Linked DNA regions of Homo sapiens: regions 1, 3, 4, 5, 6 and 7 are each linked to region 2. The links are contacts of gene promoters, found by promoter capture Hi-C in blood cells and fetal thymus (Javierre and others, 2016). All regions are on one chromosome and are shown on one strand. Each heading gives the region's core, a stretch centred on a gene start or on the middle of the fragment in contact. The rest is flanking DNA. Distances are from core to core; before and after follow the strand shown. Region 1 overlaps RBM26 (RNA binding motif protein 26). Region 2 holds the start of POU4F1 (POU class 4 homeobox 1). Region 3 has its middle 160 kb from the start of RBM26. Region 4 overlaps RBM26 (RNA binding motif protein 26). Region 5 overlaps RBM26-AS1 (RBM26 antisense RNA 1). Region 6 has its middle 45 kb from the start of EDNRB-AS1. Region 7 overlaps NDFIP2 (Nedd4 family interacting protein 2).

The links. Contacts are between HindIII fragments. The CHiCAGO score rates a contact against its expected background, and 5 or more counts as called.
Region 1: a contact is called between a fragment that was not itself captured here and the fragment with the promoter of POU4F1 in region 2, in 1 of 17 cell types (total B cells). The highest score is 7.4, in total B cells.
Region 3: a contact is called between a fragment that was not itself captured here and the fragment with the promoter of POU4F1 in region 2, in 2 of 17 cell types (total B cells and naive B cells). The highest score is 9.6, in total B cells.
Region 4: a fragment that was not itself captured here is called in contact with the fragment with the promoter of POU4F1 in region 2 in 1 of 17 cell types (total B cells); the score reaches 5.1 in total B cells.
Region 5: a fragment that was not itself captured here is called in contact with the fragment with the promoter of POU4F1 in region 2 in 1 of 17 cell types (total B cells); the score reaches 6.4 in total B cells.
Region 6: a fragment that was not itself captured here is called in contact with the fragment with the promoter of POU4F1 in region 2 in 2 of 17 cell types (M2 macrophages and M1 macrophages); the score reaches 6.9 in M2 macrophages.
Region 7: a fragment that was not itself captured here is called in contact with the fragment with the promoter of POU4F1 in region 2 in 1 of 17 cell types (erythroblasts); the score reaches 5.1 in erythroblasts.

The regions. Positions count from the first base shown.
Region 1 is chr13:79,345,760-79,349,109 of GRCh38, reverse strand. The region is part of intron 14 of RBM26 (RNA binding motif protein 26); the gene reads left to right. Among named protein-coding and RNA genes, the nearest start is that of RBM26, 59 kb to the left of the region's middle. The HindIII fragment of the contact is 6,086 bases long and covers 1-3,350 here.
Region 2 is chr13:78,602,250-78,605,792 of GRCh38, reverse strand. POU4F1 (POU class 4 homeobox 1) reads left to right here and starts at 2,241. Exons shown (of 2, transcript NM_006237.4): 1 at 2,241-2,589; 2 at 3,242-3,543. The coding sequence starts at 2,467. It overlaps OBI1-AS1 (OBI1 antisense RNA 1), which reads right to left. Exons shown (of 6, transcript NR_047001.1): 4 at 349-492. RefSeq lists a silencer at 2,291-2,450. The HindIII fragment of the contact is 4,390 bases long and covers 1,042-3,543 here.
Region 3 is chr13:79,247,680-79,251,354 of GRCh38, reverse strand. No RefSeq gene overlaps it. Among named protein-coding and RNA genes, the nearest start is that of RBM26, 160 kb to the left of the region's middle. The HindIII fragment of the contact is 2,558 bases long and covers 986-3,543 here.
Region 4 is chr13:79,325,591-79,329,154 of GRCh38, reverse strand. All of the region lies in intron 20 of RBM26 (RNA binding motif protein 26), which reads left to right. Among named protein-coding and RNA genes, the nearest start is that of RBM26, 79 kb to the left of the region's middle. The HindIII fragment of the contact is 4,693 bases long and covers 1-3,564 here.
Region 5 is chr13:79,416,400-79,419,906 of GRCh38, reverse strand. It overlaps RBM26-AS1 (RBM26 antisense RNA 1), which reads right to left. Exons shown (of 7, transcript NR_038991.1): 4 at 1,991-2,072. Among named protein-coding and RNA genes, the nearest start is that of RBM26-AS1, 12 kb to the right of the region's middle. The HindIII fragment of the contact is 529 bases long and covers 1,387-1,915 here.
Region 6 is chr13:77,772,460-77,776,015 of GRCh38, reverse strand. No RefSeq gene overlaps it. Among named protein-coding and RNA genes, the nearest start is that of EDNRB-AS1, 45 kb to the left of the region's middle. The HindIII fragment of the contact is 5,148 bases long and covers 1-3,556 here.
Region 7 is chr13:79,490,523-79,494,319 of GRCh38, reverse strand. All of the region lies in intron 1 of NDFIP2 (Nedd4 family interacting protein 2), which reads right to left. Among named protein-coding and RNA genes, the nearest start is that of NDFIP2-AS1, 11 kb to the right of the region's middle. The HindIII fragment of the contact is 2,909 bases long and covers 693-3,601 here.

The DNA.
Region 1 (3,350 bases), core at 197-2,696, 740 kb before region 2:
AATACACAGACAGTCATCAACTTACGGTGACTTGACTAACAGTTTTTCAATTTGATGATGCATTTATTACTTACAAGTTGAAAATGTATTTTCAACTTAAATGGTATTTCAGCTTACAATGGATATAGCCCCATCATAAGTTAAGGGACATCTCTATACAGTTTTTGTCAATTAAAAGAATAAAATTTTGAAAGCTACAAAAAAGATAAGGTAGATCAGTGCATTAAAACATACTTTGTGTTCTTGAAATTTAAAAACGATTAATATCTAAAAGTATGTATAAACTTAACTTTAAACCAAAATCCCATTCTTCTCACCAGAATTCTCAGGTTTGATACAGAACGCACATCTGTGTGCTGCTTTAAGTGAATATCATAAACGAACATTCAGATTTACTGAACAGGTGACTACTTACTATGAAAACTGACCATACAGTAACTGTATTAATACGTTTCCTACACATAGCTCCTCATACTGTCTTTTGATTGCATTAAACCAATGTATTTCTGCTTTAAAAACCTGTTGGAGCTATTTATTGTGAGTGTGGCTGCTAGACATCATAACTATATTTGTATTTAATTTCTACTTAGGCATTGGTTATTGAAAAATCATACTCGGATAACTTAATTTTACAAAATACTTTTTCCCTTCCATTCTTATCTATGAAAAACAGCTGTTTTTCTCTTTCTTTACGATTACTTATAGTTATTGTGGCTGGTATTATTTTACATAGGAAATAAAATAAGGAGGTGTTAATGGATTGTAACCTCCCTCTCTTTAGGGAAAATAAGAGGTATTAGTGCTATACATTTTAACAACACAGCACATGATACTTTTCAACTTATTTTCTGAGTTCAGCATACCAAACCTGACAATATACTATAAGAAAGGAAAATTACAGACCAACATCTGTCATGAACATAGACACAAATATCCTAGAGAAAATATTAGCAAATGTCCAGTGATACATGAAATACATAATCATTCATGGCCAGGTAGTATTTATTCCAGAAATTCAAGGTTGATTTACCATTGGAAAAATCAGTTTAATTGATGTTAGTAGAATGAGGGAGGAAAAAACTCTAGATGATTAGCTCAGTAGAGAAAGTGTTCTGTTACTTAGTTACATTAAACACTCTGCAAAGGAGGAATAGAGAAAAACTGTTTTAATTTGATGAAGGAAATCTGCAATAAAAGAAAAAAAACTACAGCTAACATAATATTCAATTGTGAAATATTGACTGTTTTTCCTTGAGGTTGGGAAAGACAAGGATGTCCATTTGCATCACTTTTATTTTTTTTAGTATTGTACTGGAGAGACTCATGGGTGCACTAAGGAAGGAAAATAGAATAAACCATATAAAGATTGGAAATAAAACTGTTTACTTGCAGATGACATGGTTGTAGATATAGAAAATTCAAAATAATTCACACAGTTGGGATTAAGTAAGTGTAGTAAGATGTATAGAAGTAAATATGTAAAAATTATAGCACATATAGAAATGCATTTGGAATATAGAAATGTGGTTGTTTGGAGAAGTCACTGTCTCTGTTCTTAGGAATTGGAGTATCTTCTTTTCTGTTGGGCTCGTTACTTCCCTCCACTAATTTCAGTTTTAATAGATTTTCTTCTTTTGAAAATACATGTGTCTCTTACTATCCAAACTGTCTAATCTCCAGAACCAGATAGATTCAAATAGTGAACAATATAGTTCATTGTTTATAAGTCACATTTTTACATTTTAACACCTCTGACGTTGGGCTGTGTCTTATAATTGTTAGACACAGGTTATGATTGGCAGCCTTTTTTTCTTTAGTAGGGGTACATAAATGATAGTTTGTCTTACAGTCACTGAGTTGTAGCCTTAGTGAGTCACATTCGTGGATGTTCTAGTTTTACAGAAGGATGTTCCTGGATAAAAAAGGAAATGGGAATACTTCTAGGAATAAAGGAGTCTTATCATTGTCAGATACTTTTATTCACTTTGAACCAGCACTCCTTAGTCTGATACTACATGTCAAAAATGATTTGAAAAGGAGTATTCTCACTGAAACTGGAGAAATACTTGGTTAAATAAATTATATGGGTTTGTTCTTGGCTTCTCACTGCTTTTATTATGAAGATAATATAAATTAAAAACTGGAAAATTGGGTTACGATATTCATTGTTTCACACTTAAATAATTAGGAGTTTTTTCTTTTGGCCACAACTTTTCAACTTATGGAATCCTCATGAAGAAAACAGTTTGTGAAACTTAATTAGGCTCTGTTTTCAGTTTATCCTGTGTTTCTCTACTAATATATTGTCTTGTCTTTGTATAGTCATGTGGTTTGGCATTTTGTGCTGTGGTTAGGTAGCATGGAAGAAATTTTTCTCTAGAATTACAAAGAAAGGTCACTGAAGTCTGACCACAAACAAAATCTTTGTTTAATTGGTCGAGTATGGTGGCTCACACCTATAATCCCAACAGTTTGGGGCGCCAAGGCAGGAAGATTGCTTGAGCTCAGGAGTTTGAGACCAGCCTGGGCAACATGGCGAGAAACCCTGTCTCTACAAAAAATACAAAACATTAGCCGGGTGTGGTGGTGCGCGGCTGAGGTCCCAGCTACTTGGGAGGCTGAGGATCACTTGAGCCCATGAGGTGGAAGTTTCAGTGAGCCAAGATCTGGGCCACTATGCTCCAGCCTGGGTGACAAAGTGAGACCCTGTCTCACAAATATAATAATTGATCAAATTTTAATACACATCAAATATTGTTAAGAACCTTTCTTTTTAAATATCAGCTGTACTGTATGAAACTAGTACAATTATAATATTTTAGGTTTTTATTTCGTTTAGAGGCTAACACTTTCTTGAATACTTAGAATAGCGATTTGTGATGTTCCCTAATCAGATTTCATGATGAAAGATTAGAAAGTAGTCTTCAGATTGCTACTTACCTGTTAACCAGATGTTAATGTTTCAGTGGCTAAAAAATAGGGCCACTTTTCTCATTTATACTCTTAAACTTGAGTAGTTCTTTTAACCTTATTTAGGTCATGAACTCCTTTAGAAACAATGACTTGAGAAAACAATGTTTTTCCTTAGAAAAATTGCAGTGTTCACACACATGCTTTCATGTTTAGTTTTATAGCATTCGTAGATCACCCTACAGGGATTCCTAGGCTTCTTTTTAAGAACCAGTAACCAGTCACCCCGTGGAACTTAAACTGTTTTTCTTTTGAAGGATAAAAAAGATACCCAATACTTTTTTTTTTTGAGCTGACCGTTGTATAGAAAAGGTTGTCCACTCTGACCTATAGTCATTTCAGTCTAGTTTAGTGCAGAAATGTTTTTTGAGTACTTACCC
Region 2 (3,543 bases), core at 992-3,491:
CTCCTAACTTCAGGCTAAGGTGGCATCTCTCCGCTGGGTTTAATGGAAGCCTCCCAGGGTTGGAGGGTGAACCGAGGTGCCTTTTGGGTACTCAGGAGCTCACCTGGCTCTCAGAGGCCCCACCCGGCCGCAAACCTGTACTGTTTACCTTTCTGTTGCTCCTGTACCCTTCAGGGTCCCTAAAGACCAGCGCTTCCTTGAGAGGGGAGGGGCAGGTTCCAGGCCCTCACCCTCTGTGGGGGCCTTTTCTTTCCCGTCAAGAGAGAGCGCAGGGAACGGCCACCAGGGGTGTCAGGAAGGACTAGGTTAAGCCCGGACTCCCGGTGTGATGACTACCGTAGGACTCACTCTTTCCCTCTAGCGACGTCCTGCTCATCGTCCACTCCCCGTTGAGATAAAGTTGCATTTAGCGCTCCCAGGGGACTGCGTAATGGATGGAACCAGCTCCTTCTCTCACCAGCAAGTGAACATCCTTCTCACTTCCCTCTGGAGCTAGAAGGAAGGGAGGGGGTGGGGGGGAACATGAAAAGAAAGAAAGAAAAAGCCATGGTGACGCCTGTGGGCTCTTCTTGGAATCTGAGTAGGTGAGTGGGTATGCTAAACACACATGCATTTGTGCAGAGGAAAGATAAAATCCACGGGAACGCAAATTTAGGTTTATAGAAATGAGATCTGCTCTTTGGTGGAAATACAGACTTCCTTGGTGTGGGAGAGAACAGAAAGATTATCTGATTTCTGCTTTCCATAAGCAGCCCCTTGCTGCTCTCCAGCTCTCTTACCGCAGATGTGATAACATCTGGGCTGTTAGGTTATTATCACCGCGAGCAAGTGCTCCTTCCCTGGGGACTTTGGCACCTGAACTGTGGCTCCCCTGGGAGGCTCTTGATCTGCTACCACATAAGGGCCATATAACAGGTTGGCTAATTGATTTATTCTTTTTAGGTCTTAATTTCACAATAATTTTTTAAAAATTTAAAAACTGGACCAGAGCTTGTCCCCGTTCTTTCAAATTGGCTTGATTTAATATTTTTGAATCAAGCTTTCCTGTAAGTTAGTTTGATCTGTCTCCTATTGAAAAAAATATATATAAGCAGGCAGAGATATGAGGCAAAAAGCCAAAAAGATGGAAGGGAAAAGAAAGTTCTCTTTTCAACATCTTATTCCCTTTTCTCTGAAGCAGTTTTCCTGGAGTTCCCAGCATAAAGTGTGTGTGTGTGTGTGTGTGTGTGTGTGTGTGTGTGTACGCTGAGGGGAGGAAGGATCCCAACTACACCCTGTTAACTGTTTTTTCCTTTTGATTACTAGAAGCCTTAGATCACCCGGAGCTCGTTTGAAACGTGGGTTTGTACACGGTTGAAGGAGACAAACAATAAGAGAAATGCACAATTTCATTTCAACAGCTTTTCCCGAGTAGAAAGCACACGCTCCTTGTGGCTCCTAAGTGGCTGTCACTGGCGGTGCCTGACACAGTTATATTCACAACAACAACAAAAAAGTATGCGGAGGAAATTAAATTATATGGAAATCAATAGCGTCTGACTGCTTCAAACAAATGTCTGTCACCGCGATTATTCTCCAGGAACCTATTTATAAACCTTTAAAGAAACAGGTTCTTGCAGCAAAAGACAGCACCTTCTGCATTTCTGTGTTGTTATTTATACTGTATACAGAGGAATGCGCGGGCATAATTTAACGTAGAAATGTCCAGCTGTATACATTATACAACAGCTTGTTAGGCATCCCGAAGAGGAGGAATGCCTAAGTAATGCTCATATATTCAAGGCTTGCTATCAGGGAGAAGAAACATACACACATACACACACACGCACGCACACACACACACACACACACACATAGAGGGGCGTGCGCGCATCTCGTCTTTTTTATTCTAAAAGGTGCCCACCCTTAGACAATAGCTGGACCTTCTGATCTTTCCAGACCACGGTGGGAAAGGTGAGGCGGGCAGTGCGCATGCCCGGGTAGCTACAGGTGCATCACCTGCGCTGTCCTTGCTGGTGGTCACTATAAGAGCGGCTCCCACGCGCTGGTCGCGGCCGGACGAGCGCGCGCGCGCGCAGACGCACGGGGCCGCCGAGAAGGAGAGCGCGCGTCAGACAGACGGAGACAGCTGATGCCTGTCAGCGCGGTGGGGCCGCGAGCTCTCGCGAGAGCTCCCCGGGACGGCCGCGAGAAGTGGGGCTCAGGTGTTAGAGGAGTGCATCCCGTCGGCGCGCGGGGCTAGAGCTGTCGGAGAAGCGGGACCGCGAGGCCGGCGCGCGGCGCTCTGCGCGGTCAGAGGGAGCGCCTGGCAGCAGCAGGAGCAGCAGCAGCAGCCCGCGGCGGGGCCGCCGCCAGCCGCCGCGACCGCCGCGGCTGCAGCCTCCGAAGGGAGGCCGGGTGAGCCGGCGTACGCACTTTCCCGCGGACTTTCGGAGTGTTTGTGGATATACATGCCAAGCCGCCACGATGATGTCCATGAACAGCAAGCAGCCTCACTTTGCCATGCATCCCACCCTCCCTGAGCACAAGTACCCGTCGCTGCACTCCAGCTCCGAGGCCATCCGGCGGGCCTGCCTGCCCACGCCGCCGGTAAGCGCCCCACGCCCGCGGCCCCGGCCCGCGCGCCCGCCCCTCCCCGTCTCCGAAACGCTGCATGTCGGGGGCTGGTGTGTGCAGGTCCCGGTGCGGGGAACTGCGGGCAGGGGGTGTAGAGCAGTCCCGCAGCGAGGCACGTTTTGTCCGGCGGCCCTTAATGTCGTGTTCCTGTCTGCCTCTGCCTCCGCGTCAGGCGCCTGCGATCGGAGTAGGGAGCGCTGGGGCCAGGACTCTCGACTTCCCTCTACTTTCTCTGTTAATTTCACGCCTCAGAAAGGCAGTCTCTGTGCGTGCTCGGGTGTGTGACACGGGTCCCCAGCTGCGAGTTACATTTCCATTTCTTCTTTTCCCTCTTTTTCGTCTCCCACGCCCGTTTCCGGAATGTGTTCTTGTGTCCCCCTTTCTCCCTACTTCTGTCCCCCTCTCCACGCTCCCATCCCTTCTCGTCTGCCCCCTCCCTGGTCGTCAATGTGCCCCCTCTCCGTCTTTCCCGCTCTCCACTGCCCCCAAACCCGTTGTTATTTTGGTTGCTTTGTGTTTGCCCTTCGCATGCTGTGCTTTCCGGCCTGTGTGTGTGTTTCTTCTGTTGTTTTGTTTTGCTCTTTTGGTTTTGTGGTTTTTTTGGTTTGGTTTGTGTCGCCTGCAGCTGCAGAGCAACCTCTTCGCCAGCCTGGACGAGACGCTGCTGGCGCGGGCCGAGGCGCTGGCGGCCGTGGACATCGCCGTGTCCCAGGGCAAGAGCCATCCTTTCAAGCCGGACGCCACGTACCACACGATGAACAGCGTGCCGTGCACGTCCACTTCCACGGTGCCTCTGGCGCACCACCACCACCACCACCACCACCACCAGGCGCTCGAACCCGGCGATCTGCTGGACCACATCTCCTCGCCGTCGCTCGCGCTCATGGCCGGCGCGGGCGGCGCGGGCGCGGCGGCCGGCGGCGGCGG
Region 3 (3,675 bases), core at 1,015-3,514, 650 kb before region 2:
TTCACTGTGTCTATGCTTGAGATGTATTTAATCCTACATTAACAGATATTTATTGAATGCTTAGCCTGGGAGAGGAGGGAGGTGGGCCTTGAGAGCCCCTCAAAGTCATGCTCCTCCAGCTGTTCCTCCTATGAAGAGTCACTCTTTGTAGCCAGAGTGTGAAGAGCTGGGAACGTGTTTATAGCCAGGACTAAGAGCTGGTCATGGACTCTGAAACAAGAGGAAACTAAAAGTAATGAGTTCTTTGATCCTTGAAGAGGTTCCCTTAAAGTTGGGATGAACCCTGGCTGAAAAGAATGTTTCTAAAAGAGATTCAGGGTTTCTCTTCCAAAGATTTGAAGACTTTTGTAAATTATTACAGTCATTTGAGATTGTTTAAAACTTCCTTGTTGGGACAGAGGGAAATGGATGATGAGCTCTCATGCCTCCAAAGGTGTTTTACAAGTTACAGTATCACTGTGATGCTGTTCTAAGAACGGCCACTTCTAAATTCTTCTTTCTAAGCTCAAATAGAAGAAAGTTCTCCCTTCACTTCTCTTGTCCACATGTGAAATGAATAATGCCTGTTTCCTGTCATTCTGTTATTAACTTCATTCTCAGTAAAGGGAAGCAGGCCCAGTGGCCACTGGAAAAGAAGAAAACCCAAGAAATACTTGAAAGCTTACGTTTCTACCCTATTAACAAGGCCAACTCTAGGGTGGGGGAAGTGGTTTTATTTTTATGGTAATTTAGCTAGCAACTATGTGAGGTTGGCTTGCGTTTTTATTGTTGGTTTTATTTTAGTCTGCACGACCAGTTGGATCATTTAAGAACCTCAAAAGTTGCCAAACGTTGCATTTTCATATCTACCAGCATAGATGGATTTAATAATTGAATGCTGAAACTCAATTGTAGAGATAATTTGTGAACTCTTAATTTGTTTATCAAAAATATAGGTAGAGTGCAATGACAGAATTTTTTTTGAGGGGGAGGGTGGGATCAAGCTTGAAGATGCAGTTACATTACTCTGCAGCTCTACCCTGAGCACAAGTACACGAATATGAGATCTGTTATATTAGTACTGTGTTAATAGTGTCATTGGCATTTTAAACACCAGAAATATCAAAGCAAAACTAAATTCCTGAAAGTAAAGAGTAATTGAGGCCAGGTGCAGTGGCTCACACCTGTAATCCCAGCACTTTGGGAGGCCGAGGCGGGCGGATCATGAGGTCAAGAGATCGAGACCATCCTTGCCAACATGGTGAAACCTGTCTTTACTAAAAATACAAAAAATTAGTTGGGCGTGGTGTCGGGCGCCTGTAATCCCAGCTACTCGAGAGGCTGAGGCTGGAGAATCACTTGAACCTGGGAGGCAGAGGTTGCAGTGAGCCGAGATCATGCCACTGCACTCCAGCCTGGCAACAGAGCGAGACTCCGTTTCAAAAAAAAAAGAATAATTGAAAAGTTAAAAATTAATATATTATCTAACCATTTTTTTTGCCACTGCTGTGTGACACTATTTTTATAGCTTTATTGAGGTATAATGAACATACCATGAACTGTATGTATTGAAAATGTACACTTCGATGAGTTTTGACTTATGTACACACCCATGAAACCATCACCACAATCAAGATATGTGAATGTATCTACATTTCTAAAAGTTTCCTTGTGAACCTTTGTAATCTATCTTTTACTCCCCTCCCTAACCTCCCTCTTCTTCCCAAGGCAACAACTGGTCTGCATGGCGTCACTATAGTTTAGTTTGCATTTTATCAGATTTTATATAAATGGAATAATATAATATGTGGGTTTTTTTTTCTATCTTCTTTCATTCAGCTCATTATTTTTGTTTGTTTTTTAGATAGTTCAGACAATAAGAAAGTACATTATTTTGAGTTAATTTATGTTGTTGCACATAGCAACATTCTTATTCTTTTTTAAATTTGAATCTTTTTTTATGGTGGAGTAGCAATGCATTATATGGATATAGGACAATTTATTTATTCATTCCTCAGTTGAGGGACATTTGAGTTGTTTTCAGTTTTGGCTATTACACATAGAGCTGCTAGGAACATTCCTTTACAAGTCTTTGCTTTCATTTGTCTTAGGTAAATGCCTAAGAATGAAATCTCTGAGTTGTATGGCATGTATATGTTTACCTTTAAAACTGTCAAAGTGTTTTTCAAATTTATTGTACAATTTTATATTTCCTCCATCAGTATATAAAAGTTCTAGTAGCACCACATCCTCCCCAGCACTTGGTGTGGAGAGTCTTTTTAATTTTAGCCATTCTAAAAAAAGTAACGTTTGGGGCTGGGCATGGTGGCTCATGCCTGTAATCCCAGCACTTTCGGAGGCCGAAGTGGCTGGATCACGAGGTCAAGAGATGGAGACCATCCTGGCCAACATGGTCAAACAATGTCTCTATGAAAAATACAAAAATTAGCTGGGCATGGTGGTGCACACCTGTAATCCCAGCTATTCAGGAGGCTAAGGTAGGAGAATCACTTGAACCTGGGAGGTGGAGGTTGCAGTGGGCCAAGATCACGCCACTGCAATTCAGCCTGGTGACAGAGTGAGACTCCAACTAAAAAAAAAAAAAAAAAAAGTAATGTTTGGAAATGTAGCGAGATCTCATTGTAGTTTTAATTTGTATTTCCCTAATGCCTAATAATATTGGGCAACTTTTGATGTACTTGCCATCTGTATATCTTCTTTGATCGAATATCTGTTCAAGTCTTTTTCTCATTTTAAACAGTGGGTTGTCTTCTAATTGAATTGTAAGAGTTCTTCGTACGTTCTAGATACAAGTTTTTTTTTCTTATATATGCTTTGCAAATATTTCTTCCCAGTCTGAGGCTTGCCCTTTATTTTCATCACAATGTCTTTAGAAGAACAAAATTTTAATTGATGAAGTCCAATTTATTATTTTGTCTTACAGTGTGTGCTTTTTTGTGTCATATTTAAGAAAACCTTGGGCTGGGTGTAGTGGCTCACCCCTGTAATCCCAGCACTTTGGGAGCCTGAGGTGAGTGGATGACAAGGTCAAGAGTTCAAGACCAGCCTGACCAACATGGTAAAACCCCGTCTCTAATAAAAATACAAAAGTTAGCCAGGCATGGTGGTGTGCGCCTGTAATCTCAGCAACTAGGTAGGCTGAGGCAGGAGAATCGCTTGAACCTGGGAGGCGGAGGTTGCAGTGAGCCGAGATCGTGCCATTGCACTCCAGCCTGGGCGACAGAGTGAGACTCCATCTGGAAAAAAAAAAAAAGGAAACCTTGCCAAGCCCAAGGTCACTAGATGTATTCTGTGTTCTTTTAGAATTTTTGTGGTTTTTAACCACTACATTTAGGTCTGTAGTCCATTTTTAATTAAATTTTGTACTACAAACTATTGCTTAGCAAAATTTTAAGGAGACCTAAATAAATGGAAAGCTATACCGTGTTCATGGATTGGAAGACTCAGTACTGTTAAGATGGCAATTTTCCCCAAATTGATTTATAAATTAAACACAAGCCCAATTAAAATCCCTGCAGCCTTTTTTGTAGAAATTGACAAGCTTATTTTAAAATTTATATGGTAGTAGAAAGTACCCAAAATAGACAAAAAAACTTTAAAAAGTACAAATGTGGATGACTTACAGTGTTAAGTCAGTGTAAATCTTACATTATCTGATATCAAGGCTTACTATAA
Region 4 (3,564 bases), core at 21-2,520, 720 kb before region 2:
TAATCTCATGGGTCTTAATGTCTCTACATTTTTCCACCTTTCTCACTGACACCAACATGTGGGTGAACGGATATGTACGTTTAAATTTTTAATGAAAATTGCCCACCATAAAGGTTATACTTATTTGCCCACCAAAGATGTATGAGAATGCTTTTTCCCTACACTCTTGCCATAGTGTGTACGCTACATAGTGGTTTTACTACTTTTCTTATTAAAAAAAAAAATCCATAGGTATGTAGTTTGTCCTCATTTTTATCGGAGTGGGGTATCAGTTTTATCTTCAGTTTATCAAACTGAAATAGAAACTCATTTAGGTTTTAATTCACTTTTCTGATTGTAGTTGAGCCATTTTCATGTTTAATTAAATGCTGTCTGTTTTTATTGTTTGTTTTTATGTCTATCAACTGTTAATGTCATTTGCCCATTCTATTATTTTGCTGAGTAGTCTTTTTTTTTTTTTTTTTTTTTTTTACTTAATGCAGGGGCTCTTTGTATATTTGGAAATTAGCTCATAGCTTATATTTTTATGAATTTTCATTTATGCTGTATTTTCCACAATAATAGTTAATTGTCCAGTTAATCTTTTTTTATAGTTTGAAAGGCTTTCACCAATCTGAGATAAGAAACATTTTCCCTTGTTTTTTCTAATACTCTTAATATTAATAGGCTTTTTTTTTTCTTTGAAGACTTCACATTCATTTTTTTAAAAATTTACGTGGAACTTATTTGGTCTAAGGAGTGAAATAGGAAGCCTGTTGGGTTCATTAGTTAAATCTAGTTTTTCCAGGCTTATGTGAAATATATAAATTTCTGATATGTTTATTTGGGTGTGTTCCAGACTCTTCCATTGATGAGTTCTCTCTTCATGTGCCTGTTTCTCACTGTTTTAATTAAACTAGCTTTCTAAACTCAGTAGTTTGTCAGGGCAGTTTGGATTCCCTCTCACACCCAATTATTACTCACTTTCAGAATCTTGCTGGTATGTTTTAGGTGTTTATTTTCGATGTAAACTTTTGAATAAACTTAGTTTCAAAAAGATAGACTAAGTTATGGGAGAATGAACATAATAATACTAAATTTTCCTCAAATGCTAAGTCTTCCTCTAAAACCTCATTGTCTTTCAAGTTCTTCAGTACTTTTTACATTGTAAGAGCATTTTAATTTTTTTTAACATAGCCAGTATATATTACTAGTGTTAAGGTTTTCTTTTTTAAAAATTAATTTAATTTTTAGATTCAGGGAGTACACATGCACGTTTGTTAATGAGTATATTGCATACTGGTAGGGTTTGGGGTTCTAGTATACCCATTACCCAAATAGTGAACATTGTACCCATTAGGTAATTTTTCAACCCTCATCTGTCTCCCACCCTTCCTGCTTATGGTTTCTTTATATAGACAACATACATTGCTTATAAATTTCCCCATAATAATTCATCTTTTTATTGCTATTTTAAATGAGATCTTTTGTTCCATAATATTTTCTATTGGTTCTTCATATGTAGGAAGACTGTTCATCTTTTTTTATTAAATGTGTAACTGCCATCTTATCAAACTATTTGATGGTTTTAATTTTGCTCTCTTGGGTTTTTTGGGTTTTCATTCAATTTATCTTTGGTTAAACATAGTTTTACCTCTCACATTTCTACACTTATACTACTTTCTGTTATTTCATCGTTTACCTTTAGAAAAATGTTAAAAACATCGATAATAATAGTGACTGACTTTTTTGCAGAATGAAAATGCTTCTAGTATTTTCAGTATTATGTGTGATGCTGGCTTTTTGTCTTAAGGTAGAATACAAATGACTCTGTTTCATTAAGATTTTTGATCAGAAATGGATTTTTTTTTTTTTTTTTTGAGACAGGTTCTCATTCTGTCACCCAGGCTAGAGTGCAGTGGTCTGATCACAGCTCACTGCAGCCTTGACTTCCTGAGCTCAGGTGATCCTCCCACCTCAGTCTCCCAAGTAGCTGGGACTATAGGCACACGCCGCCACAGTTGGCTAATTTTTGTATTTTTTGTAGAGATGGGGTCTCACCATGTTGTCCAGGCTGGTCTTGAACTCCTGAGCTCAACCAATCTGCCTGTCTCAGCCTCACAAAGTGCTAGAATTACAGGTTTCTGTCACTACGCCCAGGCTAGAAATGGATTTTTATAATGCTTTTTGATGTTTGTATAACAATGACTTTTTTTTTTTCTTTTTCACCTTATTTCATTGCACTGCTTCTAATCATTCTCTTCTGGTTTAAATCCCATAGTACTGTATTTTTAAAAATCACTAAAGTCTCTTCTTTTTCTTTCTATTTCTCTTTTTACTTTTTAAAATGATTTTCAAAAGTAAGATTGGTTTGTAAATTTTGGGAGGGATATTTTTGTCAGGTATCTCTATTACCTGTCATTGGAAAGTTTCCATTATTCTTTGCTTTCTGAGATAATTTAAGTTGCTTTGGAAATATGTTTTTTAAAATTTTAATAGAATTCATTTGTGAAACTATCAGTATCTAATGATTAAATGTGTCTTTTTACAGGCTGTTTTGTAGAAATGATTTGTTTAAGTTTATCTTTGCTGGCTTTAGTTTGGTACTTTGGTAGTTTTTTCAAAAATTATCTTTTTAATCTAGATTATCAGCTACATTTGCATTGGGAAGCAAATTTTATCTTCATCTGATACTATTTCCCCCCCTTTCATATTTTGTGGATTTTTACATTTAGGTCCACTTTCACCTTTTTGACCACTACGTCCTAGCCCAAGTAGGCATCCTGTAGAGCACATTTAAACATGGTGTTCCTTAACATTTTATAAATGGCTATACAGTTCACTTTTAAAAATATATTTTAATGGAATTTTAAAGTACATGCATAACTCTTGAAGCACTGCCATAGCATACTTTAAAAAGTTATTTGCATTAATTATTCGTACTGTTTAAAAGCAGTACAAAGCAGATAATGTAGTACAATACAGTTCAGAAATAGACCTAAGTTTATACAATCATGTGCCACTTAAGAGGGATATGACCTGAAAAATGTGTTGTTAGACAATTTCATTGTTGTGTACACATCACAGAGTGTATTTACACAAACATAAATGATATAACCTACTACACACCTACACTCTATGGTATATAGCCCGTTGGTCTTAGGCTACGAAACTCTGGCATTGTGTTAACTATACTGAATACTGAGGCACTTGTAACACAATGGTAAGTATTTGTGTAGGCAAACATATCTAAACATAGAAAAGGTACAGTAAAAATAGGGTATAAAAGATAAAACATGGTATACCTGTATGGGGTACCTACCATGAATGGCATTTGCAGGACTGGAAATTGCTCTGGGTGAGTTAGTGAGTGAATGTAAAGGCCTAGAACATTACCATCGTATTTTATAAACTCGTACTTTAGACCTTATAAACACTGTACACTTAGGCTATACTAAGTTTATAAGAACATTTTATCTTTCTTTAATAATAAATTAACCTTAGTTTGCTCTAGCTTTTACTTTTAAACTTTACAATTTTTAAAAACTTTTTGACTCTTGTAACGCCACTTAGCATAAAACAGAC
Region 5 (3,507 bases), core at 402-2,901, 810 kb before region 2:
TGATTCCTAGAGATTTTATGGTTGCTGGTGCCTTGGAAGCCTATTCAGCATTTCCTTTGATGCAATGAGTTACTTTAATTTCATTTTTAAAAAAAGAATTTCTTCTTATATAAGTAAATCGACTACGGATATTGGTTGAATGAATGGAACTACAAGCTATGTTATAAGAAAAATATATGTCAATAGAGGTCATGAGCCTCAGTGTGTGTTAGGCATTGTATCAATGTTCACTACCCCAGGCTTAGCGGCTTAAAAACATTTATTACTTGTCACCATTCTGTGAGTTGCTGGGGAGTTCTTTTGGTTTGCACTAGCTGTGCAAGTTGGTTGGTTTAGGATGGTCTCACTCACATGCCTGGTGGTTGTCAGGCTGGATCTTACTGGGACCTCATCACATGGCAGCCTCAGCATTCAAGCACTTTTCAAGTTGTTTCTTGCATCACATTTATTTTTATCTCATCATATTTACCTTAATCTCACTAGCAAAGTAAATCACTTGGACAAATCCAGAATCAGTGTGGGAGGACACTACTCAAAGCCCTGAATATGGGAAGTGTGAACAAACTGTGAGAGAGGACATTACTGTAATACCAGGTGTTTGGAAATATGAGTAGAGATGGCTTTTAGCCTCCTCTACCTTTCTAGCTCCTTAAAATGCAAAACAAACAAAAACCCTGAGATGTAGATGGCGTTTAGCCTCCTCTACCTTTCTAGCTCCTTAAAATGCAAAACAAACAAAAACCCTGAGATGTAGATGGCGTTTAGCCTCCTCTACCTTTCTAGCTCCTTAAAATGCAAAACAAACAAAAACCCTGGGCCGGGCGCGGTGGCTCACGCCTGTAATCCCAGCACTTTGGGAGGCCGAGGCGGGCGGATCACGAGATCAGAAAATCGAGAGCATCCTGGCTAACACGGTGAAACCCCGTCTCTACTAAAAATACAAAAAATTAGCCGGTCGTGGTGGCGGGCGCCTATAGTCCCAGCTACTCAGGAGGCTGAGGCAGAATGGCGTGAACCGAGGAGGCGGAGCTTGCAGTGAGCCGAGATGGCGCCACTGCACTCCAGCCTGGGCGACAGAGCGAGACTCCGCCTCAGAAAAAAAAAAAAAAAACAACCCTGTTAATACTTTTTTAAAAACTAGTTCATTTTATCTTTTCCTCTTTCTATGGGAGATTTACAAATATCAAAGAAAGACCATTAAAAAAAAAACAGCCTTTCTTGTGGACTAATGTTTCACTTCATGGCACCTTGAGAGTCAGACAAGTGTCAATCAACATTTCAAAAATGGTAATTATAATGTAGGAAAAAAGTGATAAATGACTGTTGAAAAATGTATTATCTATTCTATGTTAGATTTGGGGAATAAAACAGTGGGTAAAAAAAGCTTTTGCCTTCAAGGAACCTAATCTTTTAACAATACAACGTGATGTAATTGTAACAGGGATAAACACTGTGAACACTCAGCCCAGTCAGGGAAGGTTTCCCGGAGAAAGCGACTTTTAAGGTAAGTGCTGGAGTTAGATGAAGGATAGGGTTGGGCATGGTAAATGTTCTAAACCGAAGGGGCTCTTTGTGCAAAGAGTACAATGACGGACACCATGGCTTGTTTGTAGAAATAGATTAAGGAATTTACAGGCTCTATGCACCAAAATATTATAGTGCTTTCCCACTTGAAATTCAAAATAAAAATAATGCTAACTATAAAACTACATGTAGGGAAGTCTTTCTGATTTTTCCAATGTTCTCATCATTTAAAAAATAATAAATACTCTAAAAATATATTCATGCCTCTGTGTTGATGATTTATTCAGCATATACCAGTTCATCTATTGCATAATGCAGTACTGTTCTGGGAACTGCAGATACATGGTATGGCACCATTGTAGAATGTAAAAAGTGGAGAATGGGAGAAGCTTAAGAACTAGGCAGGTGTCAATTAATGAAAGATGTAAGAAAGCATGTGGTTAAGGATGTGGTGTTGATTACTGACCTGAGTTCAACCTCTGCCATTGACTCATTCTATAAACTTGGGCAACTTGAAGCTTAATTTCCTCAGCTGTAAACTGGGAATGCTAAATTGTGAGAATAAATAAATGTAAAGCATTTAGAACAGTGCTTAATACCATAAAACACAGTTAATTTCAATTAAGTATTACAATTAATAAATTTGTACTTTAGCCTGGGATATGGGGAGCCAATAAGGGTTTACATGATTAGAGGGGGCTTTAATGGATTTCTTTGGCTGCAGTGTATCATCTGGGTTGAATGACAATGAGTAGATTCTAGGTATGCCTAGGAGGAAGACTCAATAGATATTCATTGGGATATTAATTGGATAGTGGTAAAAGGAGAAGGATGATACTTAGATTTTTGACTTGAGCAATTGGATGATGGTGGCTTTCTATGAGTTACATATCACAGGAAAGGGGCAAAATTGGTTAGTGAAGATAATGAGTTTAGTTTTAGAGACTGATTTGAGATGCCTAGAAGACATCCAAGTAATGACCTTTGGGAAACATCAGCATGGATATAGGAGTTGAAATAGTAAAAATAGATAAGATGGGTTGGGGATCATGTTTAGATTGAAAAAAGACCAACAGGAATTCCAAGGCACATCCATATGAAGTGTGGTTGAAGTTCAAGAAGGATACATTACAGTATTCAGAAAAATCAGGGGGAAAAACCCAAGAAGATTGTGATGCAATAAAAATAGCAGGGAAAAAAGTGTTTCAAGAAAAAAACATGTGAACAATGTTGTCAAATGTTATATTTGATCAAATAACACAAGACTAAATGTGGATACTACATTTGGTCAGTGTCAGCGAAAAGCAAGTCACTGATAACCTTGGCAAGAAGTGTTTTGGTAAAATGATAGAGACAGAAGCTAGTTCATACTGAACTGGAGTGATGGAAGAGAGGAACCTGGGACAATGAGTACAAACAACTCTTGCTTGCCTATAAAGAGAAAAGGAAAGAATGGTGGCTGAAAGCAGATCTTCAAATGATAGAGCTGAATAGTTGTTTTTTTAACAACTTTGAAAAGATCAACACCATTAACACTCTAGTTCAAACTTCCAACATCTCACATGGACCATTACAATATTCTCCTAATTGTTTCCTTCTTCTACCACTCCCCATTGTATCTTTCTTGGCTACCCCCACCTCAGCCCCATACATTCTCCACACAAATCTAATTATAGCCTTTCCTTACTCATGTAAGCCAGTTGTAGAAGGCTCTTCCTTCTTGAACTAGAATGGGTATACCTCTTAATATTCTCTAGTGAGAGAGATCAGAGAAGCTATGGGGCCTCACACTACTGATGAGTGTTCATCTCTATCCTGTAATTCATCTGCTGGTAAGTGTTTATTCTTACTTAATAATTCACAAAAGGAAGGGTGGTAGCCCCCACTTTGCTCTCAGTATTGGCTGGTCTCCCTGCAGGTACTCTTCCTTCCCTGGGCCCTACCACACCTGAGCTTCCCAAACTGAACAAACGCCAATGATGT
Region 6 (3,556 bases), core at 109-2,608, 830 kb after region 2:
AGTTAAGCAGGGCAGGGGGGCATTAGGAAAATGGTATCAAAAGCAGAAAGCAGTGACTCATGTTCTGCCATGGTAAGCATCTGGTAAAGCCGTTGCCTGTAACATCTTAGTCTGCGAGACTGTGGGAGAGTGGACCACAGCCCTCACTCACTCTAACCCTTGGATGTGATGTGCACTAAACAGAATCTGCCAAGCACAAACCACCAAATTGGCTTAGCTCTGTTAAAACCAAGTCTTTCATCTATATTCCTGTCTTCGTGCCCCTCCTATATTTTCCTTCCAGTCTATCCACTGTTTATTAGGTGAATACAATCGTCTCCATGGTGGATATGGTACTTCTCTGAGCATGTCTCTCTGCATAGCACAGGGACAAAGCTAAAAATCACATCTATCAAACTTCCTTTCTGCAAGGATTCCAGATGTGACTTAGGGCACACCCATCACTATTGCAGGAAAGGTGACAGTTCCGCAGTTTATGGTGTTTCTGTTGCAAGCACAGCCATGAAGACATTGCCTTTACTGTGTGGCAGCCTTCGCAGAGGTCCCCACATATGGTCCATGACTTTCCTGGGTGGGACAGGTGGGACATGTGACCTATCCACTTTCTGTTGGTGCAAATGTGGCAGGCATGATGATGCAGCCACGATGCTGCTTCCTGATCCCCGGACCACAGTTAGTGCAGTGTGTTAGTGGAGCCAACGGTTCCAGTGGCAGCTTCAGATTCCCCACGTCCCTGTCTCTGGCCATGTTAGCAGATCCCCTGGCAGGCCAGATCTGTGCTGCTATGCTACGGGCTGTTCTCAGAGGCCCACCCTAATTGGGCCCACCAGTCCTCCCAGTGATCTTGCAGACACTGAATTCCTCTACCAAATTCTACTTATGTTAAAGGATGCAAAATTACAGCTAGATAGAAGGAATCAGTTCTGGTGTTCTGTAACACTGTAGGATAACTATAGTTAACAATAATATATTTTTATATAGTTTCAAACAGAAGGAGGATAGTGAATGTTTTGCAACACAAAGAAATGATAAATGTTTGAGATGATGAATATGCTAATTACCCTGATCTGATTGATAGGTACTGAAACACCACCATGTACCCCCTGAATATGTACATTTATTTATCACTTACAAAAATAAAATTAGGGCAGGCAAGGTCACTCATGCCTGTAATCTCAGCACTTTGGGAGGTGGAGGTGGTAGGATCACTTGAGGTCAGGAGTTCAAGACCAACCTGGATAACATAGCCAGACATTGTCTCTACAAAAAAAAAAGGTTAAAATTAAATGGGTATGGTGGAGTGTGCCTTTAGTCCCAGCCACTCAAAAGGCTGAGGTGGGAGGATCACTTGAGCCCAGGAGGTTGAGGTTGCAGTGAGCCACAGTTGTACCACTGCACTCCAGCCTGGGGTGACAGAGCAAGATCCTCTCTCTAAAACATAATAACATAAATGAAAAAAATTAATTTAAAAAATTCTCCCTTAAAAAAGCTAATTAGTGCTACCTGCACTGAGCCTGGCTAACATAGAATTAGGTATCATTCTTGCCTTCACATCTTCCCTCAGAGAGATCTAGCTCCCCACTCCTACTTTGCATGAGCTACGAGGCCCTCCCCAAATTGGCTCCTGCCCAGCCTTTGGCTTTGTTTCTTACAGCACTTCCTTATACCCTACAATGCAGCTAAATTAAACCAATCCCTGATTGACTTAGCAATGTAACTTCAGGTCCTTGCACACACCATTCCTTTGTACATACTGCTGTCTCTGCAAGGAATGTCCACTGGCCTTGTGCCTGCTTCCACTCTTGGCTCTCTTTAATTTATTCTCATATAAAGGTAGAGTAAGTTTTTAATTTGCTCAACTCACTCCTTTTGAACTGCATTCAAATCCAACTTCTGCCTCTTAAGAGCTCTGCGTCCTGGCATAAGTTAACCTTTCTGCACCTGGGTCTCCCCATCTTTGAAATGGAGATAATAATAGTATTTACTTCCATAAGGCTGTGTGAGGATCACATAAGTAAAACGTTCTAAAGAGCTACACAGAGTATCTGGCACATAGGAAAAGCATTATGAGTGCTGGTATTATTAAGAAATCATTTCCCATTGAATTTGAAATAAAGCTCAAAGTGCTTCATGTAGCCTTGAGGTTCCACAAGATTTTCCCTCTGCTTCTTCCTCCAACTCAGCTCTTACCTCTTTCCTCTTAGCCGGGGCTGGCTTCACTGGTGTGCCACCTACACAGTATGCAGGGACCCATGATTAGGAGAGTCCCAGACTTGGTTTAATACTCCACTGTCACCATCCTGAAATTCTTAATATGTTTTCAACAAAGGGCCCTGCCTTTTCATTTTGTGCTAGCTCCCACAAATGATGTAGCCAATCCTGACACCAGCACACTGAGGTCCTGCCATCCCAATCTTCTGTTGATCCTTCAAACACCCCAAAATCTTCCCTATCTGTGCCTGGAAAAATCTTTCTCCTTCTCTTCACTTGATTAACTCCTGTACATTTTCAGCTTAAATATCCTTTTCCCAGAAGAGGAGGTCCCAAGGATGATTATTTAAATGGGATACCTTCAGAGAACCCCTATTGAAATAATCCTTTTTCTCTTCCTCTCATTCCCTACCATTCTATATCTCAGCTCCTACTTTTTCCTTTGCAGAAAAGAAATAGTATTTTGCTTATTTGATTTGAACCTTTCTCACTAGAATCAGGAATGTAATTTCCACGATGATAGGAATCATGCCTGACTAATTGGCTATTACATCCTCTGCATCTAGCACAAAACCTAACAAATAGTAGACCCTCAATAATATTTGTTGAATGGATAAACTCAGAGCCTAGTTTAAAATAAAATAATAACACTTAAGCTACCTGGAAAACCTTCCGATCCCATCAAAGTTGATCATTCCCTCTGTCCTAAAACCACTCTGTGTATCTTTTTCTATCTTTTGTCGACACAGTGCTGCATTGTTTATATGACTGTTTTCTCTGAATTTCAGAGAGCCTAAAAGTCTGTATATGATTTCTTCTCCCCAGTCCCAGGCTGACACTTCAATTGCACATACATAGATTAGGTATAACACTAAGGGTCCTTATACTCCCTAGAAGAATGGTAAAGACAAAGATTAATGCAGATGCAAATTGTAATTTCTTGGGTGACCACTAAAAGAATAGCAAAAGACAATTAGGCTATAATTTTCAAACTAGTAGGAAATTAAAACAGAATGATAAAGCAAACTAAAGTAAGACTAAAATGGAAACCAAAGGAACAGACACAACAAACAGAAAGCTCATAAAAAGGTGATAGATTGAAATCTAAATATATCAGTGATTATTTTAAATACTAATGGTTTAAATGCTGAAGTTGAGTCAACAATGTTCATACTAGATTTTTAAAAAAATCAACAAACTATATGATGCTTAACATAAGACTTCTAAAAGTTTGAAAGTAAAAGGTTTAAAAATATACATTATATAAGCACTAAAAGAAATCTGATGTGTTTAAAATTTAACATAGCCTTGATATCAGAAAAGTAGGTTTCAAGACATTAAAAAA
Region 7 (3,797 bases), core at 898-3,397, 890 kb before region 2:
AATTAGATGGTTTTCATACATTTAATGCTCACAGTAATTCTGAGATAGAATTCTGTACTGTCTTTACTTTACAGATGAGGGATGAGGAAACTACAACATAGAATAGTTGGCCCAAGATCACAACGTTTTTGAGAAGTCAAGATTTGAACCCAAGAGGCAGGACTACAAAGATCATGATTTGGGTAGGGAAAGCAAGGACATGTAAGAAAGCAAAGTAAAATTAATAAAAATAAATTAGTGGCTGAAACTGCATATGTTAAAAATACACAGTAAAATAAAGCAGCTGAAATAGTTAAAAGGTTTTTTGGGTTCTTCCCCACCAAGGAGAAAAACTTACAAGATAAAGGGTGAAAAGGAGATTGCTGTTTTTAATTATTCGTCTTTTGGTGCTCGGAATTTTAAAAGTGGACATGTACTATTTGATTTTTTTTAATATGATGGTTAAAGAAAACACCTACAAGCTAAATCCAGCCCAATGAAAGATTACCGAGGTGTGAGTGCTACACAATTGGCTGGGTTCATTGTAGCTAGATGATACCAGACTTTTTAAGCTATACCATTCATGCTCTCTATGTCTGGCATTGCCATAAATAAAAGAAACTTAGCTATCATAAAGGTTTTATTTCCCAGGATCCTTGATGTATTTTAACTCTGTTGCTACGTTTACGGTAATAAAATCTGTCCTCTAAGCTTTCCTGCATAACCTTGAACAGAACCTCCCTCGGATAGTCTTCTGTAAAATGAGAAGATTGAAGAAAATGATCATTAAGGACTCCCCTATTTCCACAATATCTGGAAACAATTTCCTTTTCTCTTTTCCATGGGTAGACCAAATAACCTAACCATGGTTACTATCTTGCAAATGCAAGCCACTGGTTACAAGAGGAATTATTCAAAAATACCAGAACTCATCTAAACTGATTCATCAGCACTATTATAAAAGCAAAGGATATACCCTAATTATGAACATCAAGAATATCAACAGTGCATAGGCTGTGCAAAACATTATTACTTTTATAGCACAGAATTCTGTAAAACTACATATCACTTTATAAACATAATAAAATATACCAGTATCGCCATGCACACACTTGGAATCATTCAGAAAAGACATTCATTTATTTCTTTAATAAGTATTTATTTTGCACCTATAACAGGACCAGAACAATGACATAAACTATTATAAACAAGACAGATCTAAGCCCTGCTTCCCACTGAGTTTACAATCTAGTGGGGAAATACACACCATGAAATAAGGGCTATAACAAGGATAAGTGCACACAGTTAAAAGAACACGCAGAACTTGAAAGTAAAGAGCAGGAAATGGAGATGGGGAGGTAAAAGGGAAGGAAAGGTTTTTTGAAGAAAATAACATCTAAATATAGATCTGAATACACAATTGAAATTAGTCCTGGAAGAAGGAGGGAGAAAAGAAAAAATGGGAAAGATATATTTAAAAGCTACAAAGCAAGAGATAGCATGATTTGGGGTGGTGATAGAGAAACAAAAGCATTATAGTTTAAAACATGGCCAAAGTATGCAATGCAGTAACAACGTAGGCAGGGATGAGGTATGCAGGTGCTCCTGTTGTTCTCTAAAGGTTAAAAACAAATACTTAAAAGGGCCTTAAGTGTGGCCAGGAACAGTGGCTCATGTCAGTAATCCCAGCACTTTGGGAAGCCAAGGCAGAAAAATGATTTGAGAACAGACTGGGCAACATAGTAAGACTCTATCTCTAAAAAAGAAAAAATTCAGCCAAGCGTGGTGATGCATGCCTGTAGTCTCAACTACTTGGGAGGCTGAGGGGGAAGACCGCTTGAACTCAGAAGGTTAGGGCTGCAGTGCTGTGATCCACCAGACTGCACTCCAGCCTGGGTGACACAGCGAGACTCTGCCTCAAAAAAAACAAAACTCTCAAGTGTTATTTCAAGACTCTTCCCTTTTGACAGAAATCACACAAAAAGTCATCTGATATAGATGAAAGCTCTCCCGAGGTGAGGAGAACAAATGTTCTACAAAAGCTGTCACTTTGAACACTTATAAAGAAAGGAAAAAAAAAAAAAAAAAGGTGTCACTACTGGATTTCCTCAGTCCAATATCCAAAAGGCTATATGTCCTAAGACCCCCAAAATTAGTAAAGGGGTTAATACCATCACATTAGAAGATTCTTTTACAAAATGAAATCCAGTTCACTCCCTTATTCTCAAAACCTCTGTCCAAATAGCACAATTTCTTTACATAATGTTATGAGTAATTCTGGAGAAACATCATAGATGAACTAAACCACAGCACATTCCTGAACTTTTAAAATATTAAACTGTACATGTTCAAACAAATCTTAAAAGCAAGCAAGTCAAAACCCTGAAATAATCTGACAGTAAATCTTAGACTACTGCAGCATTTCCCAACTTGCATTTGGCACGTCTTTAACAAGAATTTTACCCACACCCTAATTCCAGCTAAGTGATCAAACATCTGAAAGAAACCATAACAACATGGCCCGAAAACAGAGACATACGATGATTTACAATTGCATAGCCTTAATTACAGTGATCTTGTCAGTAAATTTACATTGACTAAACGTCAGTAGAAGATTCCATACCATTCCACAGTTAATTAAACTCAAGTCAGGCCTACATATATAGAATACATACAAAATCCTAAAATAACATATTGCGAATACACATACAATTGAGCAATGTTTTAGAATGAAGGTCAGATATTAAGAAAATAGTAAGAAGAAAATAGTTGCCAAGTAATCAATATAAAAAAGATAAGGAAAATCAAACCAGTATTCACAACTCCGCAGTTTATGAAGGTGATAAGCAGGGCCACTGCATATGGCTTCATGGGCTACTTATTGAACAACTCTAAAGGACACCATTCAGAGAGAGAGACAGAGGAAGACTAAGCAATATATTTCAAGCTGGAAGAGAATGCAAAGAAACAACCACCACCATCACCCCCACCTTAAAGAGCCCAGGTCTCAGTAGCAGAAACAGAATAAATATAAAAAGGAATAAAATAACATAGGCAAGGTTTTATGTCTATAAAATTGGCCTTGAACTAGCACCATTCATTCATCTTTATCAAATACTGAAAGTCTACCATATGGCAGGTATGGAAAGATATATACAGTAGTGAGCAAAACAGACAAAAATCTCTCTACCACCATGAGGCTTAAATTCAGGGAGAAAGAAGGGAGGTAGGAAATAAATAAGCAAAATATTTGGAATACCAGAAGATGATAAGTACTCTGGATAAAAACAAACAGGAAACAGCGATAAGGAGTACTGTGAATGGGATATAGTGATTTAAAATAAGGTAGTCAAGAATGACCTCAATGAGGCAATCACACTAACAGAATGAAGATTCTACCATATTTGAATAAGCTGTTTTTGACACTCTCACAGGGAGTATTATATTCTCTTCTACTATCCACTCATATCCATCCCAATTCTAGGACAGACTAGGTGCTTGGCTGATTATCAGGTGCAAGTAAGGGATGCAAAACAACCTCACCACATTGTTAGGAATTTATTTAGAGACTGGGTGAAATAAAAAATTAATTTCTTAGAAGCGTCCTTCAACATGCCAAGCTTCAGGCCTATATGAGGTACATTCCTATAACATCTACATTGGGGTGGGCAAACTAGAGCAAGCAGGCCAAATCCAGCACACTGTTTTTGCAAATAGTCTTCTGGAACACAGCCCATTTGTTCATTTTCATATTTGGTATGGATACTGCTGCACTACAATGGCAGATCTGAGTAGCTGTGACAGAGACCACATGGCCT